2 separate regions of the Homo sapiens genome follow, and region 1 is linked to region 2. Evidence: promoter capture Hi-C in 16 types of primary human blood cells and fetal thymus (Javierre and others, 2016). All regions are on one chromosome and are shown on one strand. Each heading gives the region's core, a stretch centred on a gene start or on the middle of the fragment in contact. The rest is flanking DNA. Distances are from core to core; before and after follow the strand shown. Region 1 overlaps DMD (dystrophin). Region 2 holds the start of FTHL17 (ferritin heavy chain like 17).

What was found. Contacts are between HindIII fragments. The CHiCAGO score rates a contact against its expected background, and 5 or more counts as called.
Region 1: a fragment that was not itself captured here is called in contact with the fragment with the promoter of FTHL17 in region 2 in 1 of 17 cell types (total B cells); the score reaches 6.0 in total B cells.

Annotation. Positions count from the first base shown.
Region 1 is chrX:31,295,454-31,298,555 of GRCh38, forward strand. All of the region lies in intron 62 of DMD (dystrophin), which reads right to left. Among named protein-coding and RNA genes, the nearest start is that of FTHL17, 220 kb to the left of the region's middle. The HindIII fragment of the contact is 2,269 bases long and covers 456-2,724 here.
Region 2 is chrX:31,070,590-31,073,456 of GRCh38, forward strand. FTHL17 (ferritin heavy chain like 17) reads right to left here and starts at 1,452. Exons shown (of 1, transcript NM_031894.3): 1 at 644-1,452. The coding sequence starts at 1,364. The coding sequence ends at 813. The HindIII fragment of the contact is 17,190 bases long and covers 1-2,867 here.

The sequences.
Region 1 (3,102 bases), core at 340-2,839, 230 kb after region 2:
CCCAGGCTAGAGTGCAATGGCATGATCTTGGCTCACTGCAACCTCCACCTCCCAAGTCCAAGCGATTCTCCTGCCTCAGCCTCCCAAGTAGCTGGGATTACAAGCGCTCGCTATGAACGCCTGGCTAATGTTTGTATTTTTAGTAGAGATGGGGTTTCACCATGTTGGTCAGGCTGGTCTCGAACTCCTGACATCAAGTGATCTGCCCGCCTTGGCCTCCCAAAGTGCTTGCATTACAGGCGTAGCCACCACACCCGGCCTTGACTTAGTACTTTGTATTGGTGATATATGGAATTGATTTCAACATTTTTTGCCATTCTAGGGTGAAAGTGCTACAATAAATTAAAACCTTATACCAGCCAAAGAAGAGGCAGCTCTCAATTGTGAATGTTGAGAATATACTTACAAGAAAAATTTAACTTTGGTGATGTAATAGCTTCATTTGCATTACCTAAAGCTTGAAGTCAAAAGCTAAAGTATTAAGCGTACAGAAGCATGGACTCTATGAAAGAAACAATCCAAAAAGTGACTTTTTTTTTTTTTTTTTTTTACAATGGGAGACATTAAGAACTTTGGTAACTAACTCTTCAATATGTCCCTGATGACAGACCAAGGATTTATGACCAGAAGAAGCTATTAAGAAAATCTTCCTGAGGTGTTAAACATTGAACATGGATTATTCATGAAAAGATAGGAAATCTCTTTTCTGAATCAGAAGAGAGTAGATTCTTGTTGATCTGGAGTGGTTTCCATTTACTTCTGCCATGGGAATAAACTGAATGATTGCTCTATAATTGAATAGTCTTTTAAACCATACTCTATAAATTCTATAACTATCTTATAAGTATGGTATCTAAAAATAAGACTGATAGCTTGAGGACTCATAGTTGTGAAAAACTATTGAAAGTATCATTGAAAAGGCTCAACGTTTTCTATTTTCAAAAAGCTAATGGTAAGCTATTTTTTAATCCAATGGATGATGGTTTCAGTAAAGGCAATTTTGTCACAAAGATTTTTATGGGAATCTGCAGTATGTAGAAAGATTCTCCTGAGGAAACGTGCTTACTGCTCCCTTTACAGTAGGTCAAGAGTCTCTGATTTCTAGCACAGAACTATTTTCTAGGCATCTTTTAAAACCCTACCTAAAGGCAGATGAGTGGGCCCTAATGTTACAAAGAACTACTCTGAGCTAAGTGAAAGAATTACAGTTGGACAAGTGGGAACAAATAACATGGTTCATAGCTGCAATTACTGCTCACATGAATTTTACTTATAATATTCCTGATGCCAAGTCATAAATGCTCTCAACATCTCATCTGACTGGTAGAACTTTCTTACTGGCATGAGATTCCTAGGATTTTTGTTATCCTTTAGCTTTTATATTCTACACCATGGATTGGTACCACTCTAAATTGGATCAAATTTTGGAACAATAGACATCAAGTAAGATGTTTCTAAACAATTAGCTATTCTTAGTCATTTGAATTTCTATGTCATAACACATGCTTTGGCATTTATAGAGTAACCTACTCTTAAGAAAAAATAATCTCTTCTAAAGCCCGTATTTAATTTTACAATTGTGTATACACAATTGTGTATGTATATAGTAAGCATGGTCACTGACAAATGCTAATGTCTCAGCCAGGGAAATTGATTGACAGGAAACTGGAGAAGAGCCCCTGAAAACTCAAGTCTGTAATTATATACTACATCTGTGAGTGGACTACCTGTATCAGTTTATACACCATCTTCCAAATCCCAAAGTTTAGTGGTAAACTAAACCTTGTCTGATGCCCTGTATGGTCTAAAAAAGAGGAGAGGGGTTGAAAAGAGCAAGAGGTAGAGTAGAGATGCAATCTGAAGACCGCTATTCCCAGAGTGATAGAGCAAGTGACTAGTAGTGAATGTGAGGGACCTCCTGTTTGTGTGGTTTGTCTGTCATATAAATCTTGAAACTTACATAGATTTTTATAAGGGAAAACATCAGCATATCGAGAAGAAAGATATAATGTTTAAGGGGATCATTGCCACTGGACTTTATTTAGATTTTGGCTTGCACATTCTATCAGAATGAAAAGCCAACATTGAAATCTTTTCATCATATAAGAGAAAAAGGAAGATAGTAGGTGCTGGTATCACAAGGCTAGAAGCGGTTTTCATAGTAGTCAGCCATTAATCTTTCCCTTATGAGTTTGAGTTATCCTAACATTGTGCATATTATAAATACAGACACCTGCTTGGCTTGTACTGCCTCTCAACAAAGTGATGGCAGACAGAAAACCTAAAAAAGTTCTTTTCTGGACTAGCTGTGGATTAGGCCTAGATTGGATCGCCATTAGAAAAGTGGGGAATGCATATGCATGTGTGCATACATACAAGTTCTATGGGCCTACAGTCCTGGAGTGCACACTGAGACATGTGGCTTCTGGGGGTTGCTGCCTTTCAATACCACAGAATCACTGGGTTACAGCCCATTGGCTGAGTAGTTCAAGTTATCTATAGACTCATTTATTATGTGACAGAGCTGATGATAGCATAGATGCATCCCTGATTGAAAGCCAGATAGATCCTTTGCTTCATTTTGCTTTGTTAGTGTGGGCTAGCACAGGCTTGCCTTTAGGTACCTGAGTGGAATGTACAACTTCTAGTCCTTACATGTAATGGAGAAGACTGCTATGATTCATCTTGAAAAGTAAAATGTACACACATACCTGTCTATATCCAAGCTTGGGGGTAACACTTCTGGGTTTGAGCTATGACATTTTTGTATAATAAATGAAAATTAAACTTCATTTGAATTTCATAATTACCTACTACTGGTGTGATTTAGAAGCAGCTGGTAGGTCAATATGGTGCTCTTTTATGCATTTTAGTACTGAGAAAAACATAAGTGCTAGATATGCCACTTTTAAAGTTTCCCAGAATATTAGAATTCAAACACACACACACACACACATACACACACACACACACACACATACACACACACACATACAGAGTAATAGTGGTAATACCACTGCCAGAGACTCAGTTAAGATAATATTGTTCTCTATTTGACTCCTCTTTAATTCCGTCTAAACATGAATGAGAATAATCATTGAC
Region 2 (2,867 bases), core at 202-2,701:
TCACTAATAAAGTCATGATACTTGTCCTTCCTTCTTCCTGAGATTCTTGTAAAAACAAAGTACAACAATGTAAATAAAAGGACTTGGACTTGCAAAGTGCCATTTTAGTTTGTCAGCCCCTTGGCTATGGGGAAGCCAGCTTAAGGCTCCCACTACAACTGTCACCCAAAGTGAGCTTGCCAAAGAAGTACCCTGCTGTGCTGTCACCCAGAGCCCCCACTTGCTACTCAGAATCCACAAACATTAACATTGGCATATTTTAATAAACTACAAGTTTTCATGTAAAGTTGAAGACCCTTTGTTTATTTTAATCCTTGCCCAATCCCATTTCCTTCACTTCTTCCCCAGAGGCAACCACTATGATGAATTCCAGACCACGTTTTACACTTTACCGTGCCCATGCACCCACAGCCACCAGGGCCCAAGAGTGACCACCCCACCCCATCCCACCCCACATACCCTGGTAGTTTACAAAGGGAAGACTAATGTGTTTTCCAGGGGCCCATAAAATACCATTCCACTCCACCCCTGCAAATCCTGAGCTGCATGCAGATGGGGCAGGGGTGGGTGGAGAGACTGCTGGATACCTACTTTAAACCTGCATGGGGATTTGCCCTGATTCCTAAAAGGTGAGAGTTGCAGGTGTATCAAATGGACACCTTTATTGCTTTGAGAACCAGATAACTTTTTTGCTAACAATGGTAAAACTGAAAGATAAAACTGAAGAGAACGTTCTGAAAGGGCAACATGCACGCCCCGCCTAGTGGCCTGACCCAGGGAAGGGACCCCGTGGCTGTGGGGCCCATCTGGGCTCAAGTCTCTTTGACGCGGCCGCCCAGGGTGAGCTTGTCGAACAGGTACTCAGCCAGGCCGGCTTCCGGGGAACAAATCTTGCGCAGGTTGCTCACGTAGCCACCCAGCTCTTTGATGGTCTTGACTTGCTCGTGCAGGTAGTGGCTCTCCAGGAAGTGGCACAGCTGGGGGTCGCCCTTCTCCACGGCCAGCTGGTACAGATCCAGCAGGCTCTGGTTGACGTTCTTCTCCAGGTGGAAGGCGGACTCCATGGCCACGAGCCCGCTCTCCCAGCCTTGGCACTCTGGCTTCCTGATATCGTGAAGGCAGATGTGGCCACCGCGCAGGTTCTGCAGCCTCATCAGCTTCTGGGCATGCTCCATTTTGTCGTCCGACAGGCGCAGGAAGTAGCGGAAGAAGTTCTCCAGGGCCACGTCGTCCCGGTTGAAGTAGAAGGCCATAGACAGGTACAGGTAGGAGGTGTAGAGCTCCAGCGTGATGTGGCTGTTGATGGCGGCGTCGCAGTTGGTGTCGTACTTCTGGCGCACCTGCGACGGCTGGGCGGTGGCCATGGCGGGCAGCGCAAGTGCAGGCGAGCACACGGGCGAAGTCGGTGCGGTAGCGAGGGCAGCAGCTGAGGTGACAAGAATGGCGGATAGTGAAAGGCGGGTGTGCGATGAAACCGGAAGTGGGCAGTGGAAGTGGGCAGTGGCGACCGTTAGGGAGGAGCGCGCTCTGTCGGTGGGGGGAGGGGCGGCGGGGGACAGAGTTGCGGGGCAAGGGGGTGGGGGCACAAGCGCTGACTTCCGTCGGAAATCCCGGCCACTTGGCGCTGAATGTTTCAAGACCATCTTTTAAAAATAACTGCTCTAGGCCGGGCACGGTAGCTCACGCGTGTAATCCCAGCACTTTGGGAGGCCGGGGCGGGCGGATCACGAGGTCAGGACATGGAGACCAACCTGACCAACATGGTGAAACCCCGTCTCTACTAAAAATACAAAAAAAATTAGCCAGGCATGCTGGCGCGCGCACCTGTAGTCCCAGCTACTCGGGAGGCTGAGGCAGGAGAATTGCTTGAACCCAAGAGGCGGAGGTTGCAGTGAGCTGGGATTGTGCCGTTACACGCCAGCCTGGGCAACAGAGCAAGACTTGTGTCAAACAACAACAACAAACTGCACTATTGAGATACAATTCCTCTGCCATAAAATTCACCCTCTGAAACATTTCCATGGTTTTTAGTATATTCATGAAGTTGTGTAACTATCACCCCATCACCAAAAATCTAATTTCAGAACGTTTTCCTTATTCCAAAATGAAATCCCCTACCCATGAGTAGTTACTGCCCATCTCGCCTTCCTCACTGGCCCGACAACCACAAATGAAATCTCTGTTTCTAGAGATTTGCTTACTCTGGACATTTCAAATAAATCATACTATATGCGGCCTTTATATGGCCTCTTTCATTTAGCATAATGTCTTTAACTTTTGTCTTTTTTATGGCTGAATTATATTTCATTGTATGGATATACCACATTTTATTTACTCATTCATCAGTCGATGGGCATTTGAGTTGTTTCCATTTTGTGACTATTATGACTAATGCAGCTATGAGGATTTTTATAATAGACATATGTTTTCAACTCCCTTGGGTATATACCTGGGACTAGAATTGCTGGGTCATATGTTAAGACTCTGTTTAACATTTTGAGGAACTGCTAGACTGTTTTCCAAAGTCCCCTCATCATTTTACATGCCCACTAACAATGTATGAAGGTTCCAACACTGTCATTGTCTTTGTTGTTTTTCTAGTGGATGTAAAGTGGTATCTCACTGTGGTTTTGATTTGCATTTCCATAATGGCTATTGATGTTGAGCATCTTTTCATAGTCATTTGTATCTTCTTTGGAGAAAACTCTATTCAAGTCTTTTGTCCATTTTAAAATTGGGTTATTTGTACTTTTATTGCTGAGTTTTAAGAGTTCTATATATATTATGTGTGCCAGTCCTTTTTCAGATATATGATTTGCAAATATTTTCTCTCATTCTGTTTTTTTTTTCACTTTCTTAATGGTGTC